4 separate regions of the Homo sapiens genome follow, and regions 1, 2 and 4 are each linked to region 3. Evidence: promoter capture Hi-C in 16 types of primary human blood cells and fetal thymus (Javierre and others, 2016). All regions are on one chromosome and are shown on one strand. The core of a region is centred on a gene start or on the middle of the fragment in contact, and the rest is flanking DNA. Distances in the headings are between cores, read along the strand shown.

The links. Contacts are between HindIII fragments. The CHiCAGO score rates a contact against its expected background, and 5 or more counts as called.
Region 1: a fragment that was not itself captured here is called in contact with the fragment with the promoter of CRBN in region 3 in 7 of 17 cell types (naive B cells, total B cells, M2 macrophages and 4 more); the score reaches 9.1 in naive B cells.
Region 2: a contact is called between a fragment that was not itself captured here and the fragment with the promoter of CRBN in region 3, in 1 of 17 cell types (M2 macrophages). The highest score is 5.8, in M2 macrophages.
Region 4: a fragment that was not itself captured here is called in contact with the fragment with the promoter of CRBN in region 3 in 2 of 17 cell types (M2 macrophages and M0 macrophages); the score reaches 7.0 in M2 macrophages.

What each region holds. Positions count from the first base shown.
Region 1 is chr3:4,267,161-4,270,320 of GRCh38, forward strand. It overlaps a transcript of SUMF1 not described here. Among named protein-coding and RNA genes, the nearest start is that of SETMAR, 35 kb to the right of the region's middle. The HindIII fragment of the contact is 2,894 bases long and covers 1-2,828 here.
Region 2 is chr3:4,208,728-4,211,848 of GRCh38, forward strand. It overlaps a transcript of SUMF1 not described here. Among named protein-coding and RNA genes, the nearest start is that of SETMAR, 93 kb to the right of the region's middle. The HindIII fragment of the contact is 2,768 bases long and covers 13-2,780 here.
Region 3 is chr3:3,177,706-3,180,940 of GRCh38, forward strand. CRBN (cereblon) reads right to left here and starts at 1,986. Exons shown (of 11, transcript NM_016302.4): 1 at 1,916-1,986. The coding sequence starts at 1,982. RefSeq lists a silencer at 2,050-2,219. The HindIII fragment of the contact is 7,719 bases long and covers 125-3,235 here.
Region 4 is chr3:4,248,675-4,251,899 of GRCh38, forward strand. It overlaps a transcript of SUMF1 not described here. Among named protein-coding and RNA genes, the nearest start is that of SETMAR, 53 kb to the right of the region's middle. The HindIII fragment of the contact is 3,037 bases long and covers 1-2,898 here.

The sequences.
Region 1 (3,160 bases), core at 132-2,631, 1.1 Mb after region 3:
ATCAAGGATATTGGTCTAAAATTCTCTTTTTTGGTTGTGTCTCTGCCCGGCTTTGGTATCAGAATGATGCTGGCCTCATAAAATGAGTTAGGGAGGTTTCCCTCTTTTTCTATTGATTGGAGTAGTTTCAGAAGGAATGGTACCAGTTCCTCCCTGTACCTCTGGTAGAATTCGGCTGTGAATCCATCTGGTCCTGGACTCTATTTGGTTGGTAAAGTATTGATTATTACCGCAATTTCAGCTCCTGTTATTGGTCTATTCAGAGATTCAACTTCTTCCTGGTTTAGTCTTGGGAGAGTGTATGTGTCGAGGAATTTATCCATTTCTTCTAGATTTTCTAGTTTATTTGCATAGAGGTGTTTGTAGTATTCTCTGATGGTAGTTTGTATTTCTGTGGGATCGGTGGTGGGCGAAGGACATGAACAGACACTTCTCAAAAGAAGACATTTATGCAGCCAAAAAACACATGAAAAAATGCTCACCATAACTGGCCATCAGAGAAATGCAAATCAAAACCACAATGAGATATCATCTCACACCAGTTAGAATGGCAATCATTAAAAAGTCAGGAAACAACAGGTGCTGGAGAGGATGTGGAGAAATAGGAACACTTTTACACTGTTGGTGGGACTGTAAACTAGTTCAACCATTGTGGAAGTCAGTGTGGCGATTCCTCAGGGATCTAGAACTAGAAATACCATTTGACCCAGCCATCCCATTACTGGGTATATACCCAAAGGACTATAAATCATGCTGCTATAAAGACACATGCACACGTATGTTTATTGTGGCACTATTCACAATAGCAAAGACTTGGAACCAACCCAAATGTCCAACAATGATAGACTGGATTAAGAAAATGTGGTACATATACAACATGGAATACTATGCAGCCATAAAAAATGATGAGTTCATGTTCTTTGTAGGGACATGGATGAAATTGGAAATCATCATTCTCAGTAAACTATGTCAAGAACAAAAAACCAAACACCGCATATTCTCACTCACAGGTGGGAACTGAACAATGGGAACACATGGACACAGGAGGGGGAACATCACACTCTGGGGACTGTTGTGGGGTTGGGGGAGAGGGGAGGGATAGCATTGGGAGATATACCTAATGCTAGATGACGAGGCGGGGAGGGATAGCATTGGGAGATATACCTAATGCTAGATGACAAGTTAGTGGGTGCAGCGCACCAGCATGTCACATGTATACATATGTAACTAACCTGCACATTGTGCACATGTAGCCTAAAACTTAAAGTATAATAAAAAAAGAAAAAATAATAATAAAACCCCGCAATTTGCTTTTACATAGTAAAATAAAATGTTTTTCTTTTTTTTTTTTTTTTTTCAGATCAATGTTTAATGATAGGTTTACACAGTTGTGTGATAGCTTCTGTTGGCACAGGAAACACTACTACATACTCAGAAACATACTTCTATTACTTCCCATGATCACAATAGCAACCAGGTTTAATATTACTTCCCCTGTTTACATACACAGAAACTCAGATTAAAAAAAAAATCTATCCAGTGCTAAGTAGCCAATAAATGGCAAAGACTGAACTTGAACCCGTATCTAATTAACTTTAAATCATGTGCATTTTCTACTCAACCACTCTCCACTTAGCTACTTAATGCATTCTTCTAGTTAATTTTAGCATCACAGGACAGAAAAAAAATACCTTTAAAAAAGACATTTAGAGTGAATGTGTGTGTGTGTGCGTGTGTGTATATATACATATATATATGCTTTCACTTAAGTTGCAAATCATAGCATGCTCCGGTAGTATAAGGAAACTGTTCATAGGTCTAAAATATGGTCTTAAACATATTTTTAAGTGTTAATTTTTAAAGTAACTTTTTAACCATACAGAAAGGGAAGTGAACATACCTCTGGAAACACCACCCAGATCAGTGATGATCCTTGCCTCATACTGCTGTACAGCAAAAATAATCACTGCCATAGATGTGTTTTGGCTGTCTTTTGATCTTTATACACACAGAATCATTTTTTTATTATACTTTAAGTTTTAGGGTACATGTGCACAATGTGCAGGTTAGTTACATATGTATACATGTGCCATGTTGCTGTGCTGCACCCATTAACTCGTCATTTAACATGTTAATGCTATCCCTCCCCACTCCCCCCATCCCAAAGAATGAAAGAATTACAGGATTGTATCTCAGAAATGTTTGCGCTTCATAATTCACTATTAGCAACACAAACTTACCAAAGGCCTATAATAGCATTCCAATTTTTTAAACCTTAAATTCAGAAATACAATTTTAATCCAGAGCTAGTCATGAATCATAATTAAAGCGTGTTTAGCAGATACATGCAAATATCAAACAATCTTAACCAAAGTGCCATATTCCAAATTACTTGGTATTTGCAGAAGATAAGGCAGCACTACAGGACAGAGGAGAGTTAACAAAGACCAGAAGCGGGGGAAAGAAAGAATGAATGGGTGAGTTGTTATCCTGATAATCAAAAATTCACATTTCCCAAAACCCAACAGTCCAAAGGCAAGACAGGCCAATTCCTTAAGTGGAATAATATTGGAAGCCATGAAGCTCACAATGGCACTTCCATTCAACTACTAATGCACAAAATTCTACCAGAAATGCATCCCTCTGAGGATCTGGCCCTATTAAATTCTCATCCTTCTCTGGACAGACTAGAAAATGTAGGGTATACAATACAAGCTGCTCTTAGCTACCTGCACTCTGTGTAAGGACAGTCTACAAGAGGGAACTTTTTGAAGGTGAAGAGCTGATGATGAAGTAATGATACCATGTATTAAGTGACTTATGTCCTAAGCTTTTTACAGCTACCATCTCATTTAGTCCCCACAGAAGTACTACAAATAAGGTATTTTTAATCACATTTTATGTATAAGAAAGCCAAGGCCCAGAAGAGGTAGGTCATTTACCCACGGTTCAGGAGGAACAAACGAAGAAACTGGGGTCAGAGCCGGACTATCAGGGAAACTAAATTGATGATACACTGATGCTGAGTCAATGACCTTGGGCTCCTTATAAAGGAGCCTCAGTATTGAAATAATTAAGCACTGAAGTAAGCACTGAAGTAATACTGACTATAGGTGATAAAGTGGTCCCAGGTCTCCATCTGCAAGAAAACAAACAGGGA
Region 2 (3,121 bases), core at 147-2,646, 1.0 Mb after region 3:
AAAAAAACCCCAAGCTTGAGTATGTGACAATAGAAACTTTCCAAACTGAAAAGAAAAAAGACTAACATAAAATCCAAGAACTGCTGGACAACAACCAAAGAGGAAACCAAAGAGGTAACATATGCACAATGGGAATATCAGAAAGAGAAGAAAGAGATCTGTTGCTAGACTCAGATTAATATTTTGTTAAGGATTTTTGCATCTGTGTCCATGAAGGATATTGGTCTATAGTTTTCTTGTGATGTCTTTGTCAGCTTTGTCTGGCTTCATTAAAATGAGTTGGGTAGAAGTTCTCTCCTATCTGTTTTCTGAAAAAGTTTGTGTAGAATCAGTATGATTTCTTCCTTAAATACTTCACAAGATTCTCCAGTTAAAACATCTAGACCTGGCCACTTTATGGGATATTATCCTTTTAATGATTCAATTCAATAAAATTTTATTGGGTACCTATTATATACGTGCTGCTGCAGTTGACTTTAAGGACCTACAATTTCCAATATGTATAAATTTTACACTCTACTATAAAGATTTTTAAAATCCTACATACAAAAATCAACCATGCCATAATACAAGGTACTGTTTAATTATGTGCAAACATCATGGAGAACAAAACACTAACTGAAACTTTATTCAAATTCAGTTTCTGTCATTACCTGGTAGTTGAACCTTAATCACTTAAACATCCTAAGTTGCAGTCTCCTCATTGTAAAATAATAAAGTTCGATGAGAATACTTCTAAGATCCTTCCAGTATTTAAATTATTTAATCTATAAGGAAAGTTTAAAATTAAACTTTATCACAAATGACAATCTAAGAAAAATGTTTATAATTAAAAGCCCAGACAAAATATTATTCCAAATTTATTAGATCTTAGAGATCAAGAAGAAAAAAACAACAATATAATAGAAAAATAACATTCAGAAAAAGAAACACCAAATGATCCTTAAACACATGAAAATTACTGAACATCAAAATCAACTATATGCTAACAAGTAACTGGAAAATATAATTTTAGAAAGATAAGCATTTAAATTGCAATAAAAGACATCAAATACTTGGGAATACATTTATCAAACTATGTATAAGATCACTACGCTAAAGACTACCACAGATTGCTGAGAGAAATTAAAGAAGGCCAAAATAAATATTCATGGATTTTAAAATTTAGAAAAAAAAATTTTTTTTGAGGCAGAGTCTCACTCTGTCACCCAGGCTGGAGTGCAGTGGCACGATCTCAGCTCACTGTAACCTCCACCTCCTGGGTTCAAGCAATTCTCCTGCCTCAGCCTCCCGAGTAGCTGAGATTACAGGTGTGTTCCACCACACCTGGCTAATTTTTGTATTTTTAGTAGAGACAAGGTTTCACCATGTTAGCCAGGCTGGTCTTGAACTCCTGACCTCAAGTGATCTGCCTGCCTCAGCCTCCCAAAGTGCTGGGATTACAGGTGTGAGCCACTGTGCCCGGCCAAAACTTAGAAATATTAACATGTCAATTCTCCTCAAAATGTATCCATAAATTCAATGCAATCCAAATAAAAATTCCAGCAGACATTTTCTACATTTATTGGAAAATGTACATGAAAACACAGATGACCTAGAAAAGCCAATACAATCTTGAAAAAGAACAAAACTTGAGGATTTACACAACCAAATGTTAATACTTAGAAAAAAGCTACAATAACTAAGGCAATGTGGTATATACACCAATGGAACAGAATAAAGACAGCCCAGAATTAGACCCACACATATTGTCACCAATTTACATACCACTGAAGTTCAAAGGGGAAAGAACGACCCTTTCCCAGTCCCCATAAATGGTGCTGGATCATTGGAAAACTATATGGAGAAAGAGGAACCTTGACTCTTAAATTCCACAATGCACAAAAATTTTTTTTTAACTTTTAAGTTCAGGGGTATATGTGCATGTTTTTTACACAGGTAAACTTGTAACATGGGCATTTATTATACAGATTATTTCATCACCCCATGTGATGGTTAACACTGAGTGTCAACTGGATTGGGTTGAAGGATGCAAAGTATTGATCCTGAGTGTGTCTGTGAGGGTGTTCCCAAAGGAGATTAACATTTGTGTCGCTGGGCTGGGAAAGGCAGACCCACCCTTGATCTGGGTGGGCACCACCTAATCAGCTGCCAATACAGCCAGGATATAAAGCAGGCAGAAAATCATAAAAAGGCTAGACTGGCATAGCCTCCCAGCATACATCTTTCTCCTGTGATGGAGGCTTCCTGTCCTCAAACATCAACTCCAAGTTCTTCAGCTTTGGGACTCAGACTGGTTTCCTTGCTCCTCAGCCTGCAGATGGCCTGTTGCAGGACCGTGTGATTGTGTGAGTTAATACTCCTTAATAAACTCCCATATATATATATATATATACACACACACACACATATATACATATACATATATATACATATATATACACACATATATATACATATACATATACATACATACATATATATATATATATATATATATCCTATTAGTTCTGTTTCTCTAGAGAACCCTGACTAATATACCCAGGTACTAAGCCTAGTACCCATTAGTTATTTTTCCTGATCCTCTCCTTCCTCTAACCTCCACCCTCCAGTTGGCCCTAGTATGTGTTGTTCCCCTCTCTGTGTCCATGTGTTCTCATCATTTAGCTCCAATTAATAAGTGAGAACATGCAGTATTTTATTTTCTATTCCTGCATTAGTTTGCTAAGATAATGGCCTCCAGCTTTTGAAAGAGGTAAACATGAAAGAGAAAATAATAAAGCTTCCAGAGGAAAATATAAGAGAATATCTTCATGACCTTGAGGTAAGGAAGATTACTTAAACCGGACACAGAAAACTCCAATCATTTAAAAAACATAGACAAGTTCAACTTCATTTAAATTAAGATCTTCAATTCTCCAAAAGATGCCATTAGACTATAAACTACAAGGTATTGGTACTATAAGGTAAAACCACAATTAAATATCACTTCATCCTCACCAGATTGGCTAAAATTATAAGAACTGATAATACATCAAGTCTTAGCAAGGAGTAGGTGGTTTTATGCTCATAGTGTAAACAAAGCAGCCAGGAAGTTCGAACTGGGAGGAGCCCACTGCAG
Region 3 (3,235 bases), core at 736-3,235:
TCTCTAAATAATTTCTTTAGTAACCTTTTTTTCATAAATATGGCTAAAAACCACTTTCCCCTACTCAGTTATGTTTATTAATGTTTCATTTGCCTAGGATAAACTCTTCACATCTCAAATATAAAGCTTTTTGTTGGAACTTAGAGGATTTACTCTTCAGAACAACTCGTACTACATGGAATTATGGAAAGCCCAGTGTTTCCCTACAAATAAAATTTACGTAATTTGGAGAGGCATTATTGCTATATCTACACCATCTCTGGGCCCTCTCCCGACGCTTTTCTGAAAAACAAAAAACAAAACAAAACAAACAAAAAAAAAACAAACAAAAAACCACGCTGACTGTTCAGAGCTATCAGTGAAGTCTGATGACTCATCTCATGCAGAGGCACGATGTGAATGTCGACAGAAGATCAGTATCCTCCCTCTTCTATTCACCATTCTCCCTGAAACACCGGATTTGGCACAGAGAGTAGGGCTAATGTCTCTGAAAAAATAGCTCAGCTTTCCATCAAAGGCTGGCACACTTACCCTTGTGTCAACTCAGCTAGAATGGCTTCGAGAACAACCAGTGACTATGGTTTATTTTTACAGAAAAGTTCTCTCCTATATGGTGGGCACGCACTCAGTCTCTTCCTCTTTTAATCCATGCTGCTACCAGTGGACAAATTAATCTTCCAAGCATAGATTTCTTTAGGCAATTACCTGAAACCTAAAACTGTTTCTTGGCAATCCACAGGAAAAACCCAAACCCACTGGCAAGAGATGCCAGTTTCCCAGCAACTTAGACCCAATATACCTCCTAGGCCTTATGTCCCACAACCATATCCTAAATATGTGCTTTTAGATGTCTCCTGATCTACCTGAAAGGCTTTTTCCCAAATCCTCTGACCCTTAAACAACCTCTGCCTCTGAAGAGCCACAACAGCATTCATTTATCTGGCCCTAAATCAACCGCCTCTGCAGTTGATTTACGTTTAGTTATATTCTCAGCAGCCCCGCCTAGACAGTAAACCTCAATTATCAGATTGTGTATTACCTCTCGTTTCATCTCCACAACACCTAACATACTTGTCATATAACGAAGGGACTCAAGTAATACTTTCAAGTTTGGATGATACACCTTTTGGAAAGCATCTCTTGAAAGGCATTCCATGAAAAGTTTATGCAATATTCCATGCATTTTTTTTTTTGTTCAGTATTTCAACACAAGGCCAAAGTCTAAACATTTCACACAACATACAGGAAAAAGAAAAACTAAGTATCTCTGATTAAGCATAATCGTACATGCCTGAGAAAGACCGATAGTAAGAAAAACAAAACAGAGAAGTGGTTTAGAGATATAATGACAGACACACCCGGGTTGGAATCCTGACTCTGCTGTGTGACCTTGGGCAAGTCATTGAACTAATCTGCAAATCCAATACTCGCTTATCAAATCGGAAACTGAAAACTGATGTGGGAAGGATTAAAAGGCGACATGCATGCAAAGCGTTAACTGCACGGCTCGTAACATGGTAAGTGCTTAGTACATGTTAGCTGTCACTCTTATTAAAAGGAAGGAGACCAGCAAAAGTAACCGCTGTGAATCTGACCCGGTCCTCTAGTTTCAGAGCATTTCCTAGGAGCTAAACTCAGAACACAAGGAGGATGGAGAGGATGGGTTTCCTGTTCTTAATAGCAAATGCTCCCCCCGACACCCTGGCTCACGGCTCGGGGCAACAGAGCAGCGAAGAAAGCGCCGCGACTCCATCGCTGGCCGAGGGCCGACGTGAAGCAGCTTTCCGGTGCGGCCCTGCTGGGCTGGCTCGCCAGGCTTGGCGCCCCCACGCCCGCCTCCCAGGCCCAGCTGCACCGCTAGCGGCTCCGAGCCTCGCCCCACTCCCGACTACAGGGAACTACTCCGGGCGGTTACCAGGCAGGAGCGGCAGGTGGTTGCCCATGTTGTGCGCAGCGTCCTGCTGATCTCCTTCGCCGGCCATGTCTGTTTACCCGCAAAGGAGGCTGGGACAGGGCGGTGCCGAAGACTCCGAGGGAGGGCCCGTGTCGCGCGGCTGCCGCGCACCGGGGCCACAGCGCCCCCTGGCGGCCCCAGGGGAGCAGACGGCGGCGCGTACCCAAGCCTGAAAGTGATGGCCTAGGCGGGAGGGACAATTACAGGCCTGCGCTCCGTCCCGGGGACAGAACGCCGTCCCCTGCCATCCACGGCTGAGTGCCCGGCGTACACGCTGCAGAGCCCTCACTTTGTTCCAGCCCTTAGCATGACTTATTTAATCCTGATATTTTGCATATGGAGAAACTGAGGCTGAGAGCCTTTAGTCTCCACCTTGTTTTTAAACGAAGGGGGCAGGGAGCAAATAGAAACCTGTTCATGCAGCATTAGTTTCAATTCTTAAAATAAGAAGCATATATGTGAAGGCTGGGGAAATCCATCAGTTATTCCGAGGGTGGTTGAATTATTGCTGATTTTCTTCAGTAGTTTCAATGTATGTACATACAACTTCAATAACTTCAGTAGTTTCCATATATGTACATTACATTCCAAAATTAACAAGTATTAATCAGAAACATACTTGAAATGATGATTGCACAGAATGGAAAACGCCTTATAATTGGTAAATAAAATTGTCTGAATATAAACTAGCCTACTCATTATGACTTCAGCTATGTAAAAACAAGTCACTGTGGCAAAAAAGAAAGACTATGTAAAAAATGAAGATAATTCTGTTATAATGGTGGAGTTGTGACTGGTAAGATATTTGTTTTGGAGGGAGGACAAAAGTTTTCGTAGTGTATTTCAGTATCACTTTTTCAGCGAGGAAGGAAAACTGAAAAATCCTTAAATGAAATACAACATCTAAACATGGTAGTGGTGGTGGTGGGCGGAGGCTGAGAGGAAGCAGCAGCATTGCTCAACAGAAAAGTCATGGATCTGAGATTTGAAAAAATGATTTCAGAAAATTTGCCTCCCTGATAAGTTACAAGCAGAAAACTCCCTTGTGACAGAGGCTTGTGAATCATTCCTGTGTCATTTTGCCTCCTGTCTCCGAATCAGTCTGTGGTCTTCGTCAAATCACTTATGGCTGCGGGCCTCAATTCGCCCATTTGCAAAATAAGAACGAACCAAATAGTGTCGCCTATTTGTTCCAGTTAATAATGTCTGCAACATGAATCATAGCATCACCTTTTACGATGAGGTTAATAACAATTACATATACTACGTAATGATTTAACG
Region 4 (3,225 bases), core at 130-2,629, 1.1 Mb after region 3:
GACTTTTTTCCTGCTTCCACCTGGAATCCCAGGGAAATGCAATCATTCAGTGTATAATCTAGCAACATGGGGTGGCTATTGAAGAAAAAGAGAACTATAGACAGAAGGAAACAAGTATAGGAAAAGAAAGTGTTGATGAGAGCAACATGTTCCTAGAGCCTGCATGTGGTATGGAGGAAAACCGGACATTCCCACCTACCCACACTGTGGCCTGCAGACTTGCTGAGAGGATCAGCTGACTCAAAGAGCCCTGACATGGGATCAAGAACACAAACAGACCACCAGTGGCCGTGGCAGTTCATGTGCATGTGCATCTGCATGATCTTTCGTCCCCTTCTCCTTCACTTCTCACTGAGTGGCCTTGCTGGTGTGCCTGGAGCCACTTGGCCCATGAGGCACATGGGGTCACCTGCTCCTAACTCAGAAGGTATCTTCTTAATGCATTGGCTTCAAAATCAGTAGAGAAAATAAGTTCTGTGTTCTCTAGCAGAGTGGGTATAATTTGGCATTCAGCAAATCAAATATCAAAGGAATTTTAGTCTGCTATGAACTATGCATTCTACTGAGTGCCAAAACCAAATATAATATACAGACAGTCTTATTTTATTCTGCTTCACTTTATTGTGTTTCACAGATATTTCATTGTTTACAAATTGAAAGTTTATAGCAACTCTGAGTCTAAGTCTATTGGCCTCATTTTCTCCAACAGCATATGCTCACTTCATGTCTCTGTGTCACGTTTTGGTAATTCTCGCAATATTTCAAATTTTTATTATTATTTTATCTGTCATGGTGGTCTATAATCAGTAATCTTTGATGTTACTATTGTAACTGTTTGGGGGCACCACAAATCACGTCCATATAAGATGGCAAACTTAATAAATGTTTGTGTTCTGACTGCTCTACCAACTGGTCATTCCCTTCTTTACCCTCTCCTCCAGGCCTCCCAATTCCCTGAGACACAGCAATATTGAAATTATGCCAACTAATAACCCTAAAATGGCCTCTAAGTTTTTAAGTAAAAACACGTCTCTCACTTTAAATCAAGAGAGTTAGAAATTATGAATCTTAGTGAAAAAGGCACATTGAAAGTCAACAAAGGCTGAAAGCTAGGCCTCTTGTACCAGTTACCTAAGTTGTGAATGCAAAGGAAAACTTCTCCGAGGAAATTAAAAGTGCTCCTCCAGTCAACACACAAATGATAAGAATGCAAAAGAGTCTCATTGGGCCAGGGGCAGTGGCTCATGCCTCTAATCCCAGCACTTGGGGGAGGCCGAGGCAGGTAGATCACTTGAGGCCAGGAGTTTGAGACCAGCCTGGCCAACATAGTAAAATGCTGTCTCTACTAAAAATACAAAAATTAGCCAGGCATAGTGGCACACACCTGTAATCCCAACTACTCAGGACATGAGGCACAAGAATCGCTTGAACACAGGAGGCAGAGGTTAGTGGAAGCCAAGATTGTGCCATTGCCCTCCAGCCAACAGATCAAGACAAGAAACGGAGGGGGAAGGGGGAGGGAGTGAAGGGAGAGAAAAGAAAGGAAAGAAAGAAAGGGAGAGGGTGAGGGAGAGGGAAAGGAAAAGGGAAAGAGGGGGAAAGGGGGAAGGAAGGGAAGAGGGAAGGAGGGAAGGAGGGAGAGAAGAAGGGAGGGAGGGAAGGAAGGGAAGGGAAAGAAAGGAAAGAAAGTAATCTAGCAGACGTTGGCTCATGAGGTTTGAGAAAAGCCATTTCCTGAACATGAAAGTGCAAGGTGAAGAAGCAAGAGCGGATGGAGAAGCTGCAGCAAGCTATCCAGAAGATATAGCCAAGATAATTCATAAAGGTAGCGACACTGAACAACAGATTTTCAATGTAGATGAAACAGCCTTATACTGGAAGTAGAGGCCATCTAGTATTTTCATAGCTAGAGAGGAAAAGTCAATGCCTGGGTTCAACACTTCAAAGAATAGGCAGACTCTCTTGTTAGAGGCTAACACAACCGGTGACTTAAAGTTGGAGCCAGTGCTCATTGACCATTCTGAAAATCTTAGGGCCCTTAAGAATTATGCTAATTCTAATCTGCTTAAATGGAATAACAAAGCCGAGATGCAATCATGTCTGTTTACAGCATGATTTACTGGATATTTAAGCCCACTGTTGAGACTTGCTAATCAGAAAAAAAGATTACTTTCAAAATAGTACTGCTCATTGATAATGTACCTGTTTACCCACGGGTTCAAATGGAGCTTATAAACAAGGAGATGAATGTTGTTTTCACACCTCCTAACGATATTCATTCTGCATTCCATAGATCAAGGAGTAATCTTGACTTTCAAGTCCTTTTATTTAAGAAATAAATTTCATAAGGCTATAGCTGCCATAGATAATGATTCCTCTGATGGTCCTAGGCAAAGCAAATTGAAAGCCTTCTGGAAAGGATTCACCATTCTAGATACCATTAAGAACATTCATGATGCATGGAAGTCAAAATATCAGCACTAATAGGAGTTTGGAAAAAGCTGATTCCAAACTTCGTGGATGATTTTGTGAAGTCCAAGACTTCAGTGGAGGAAGTAACTGCCTATGTGGTAGAAATAGCAAATGAACTAGAATTAGAAGTGGAGCCTGAATTGCTGCAATCTCATTATAAAACTTTCACTGATGAGGAGTTGCTTCTTATGGATGAGTGAAGAAAGTGATTTCTTGAGATGGAATCTACTCCTGGTGAAGATGCTGTCAACATTGTTGAAATGACAACAAAGGATTTGTAATATTACATCAATTTAGTCAATAAAGCAGCAGCAGGGTTTGAGAGGATTGACTCAAATTTTGAAAGAAGTTCTGTGTGTAAAATGCACATCATCACATGCTTTACAGAGAAATCTTTTCTGAAAGAGAAAGTCCATTGATGTGGCAAGCTTCATTGTTGTCTTAAGAAATTACCACAGCCACCCCAACTTTCAGTGACCTCCATCCTGGTGAATATTCAGACAGTCAATCCTTTGAAGGTTTGAAGCTAGGCTTCTCTCTAGCTTTGAAAATGCCAGATAGCATCTTCTTCTATTATAAGGCTGTTTTACCTACATTGAAAATCTGTTGTTTAGTGTAACCACCTTCATCAGTCAGGGACCATCAATATCAAGGCAAGACCCTACAATGGCAAAAAGATAACTCACTGAAGGCTCAGTTAATTATTAGAATTTTTTTTAGCAATGAAGTATTTTAGTAAGCTATCTACATTTT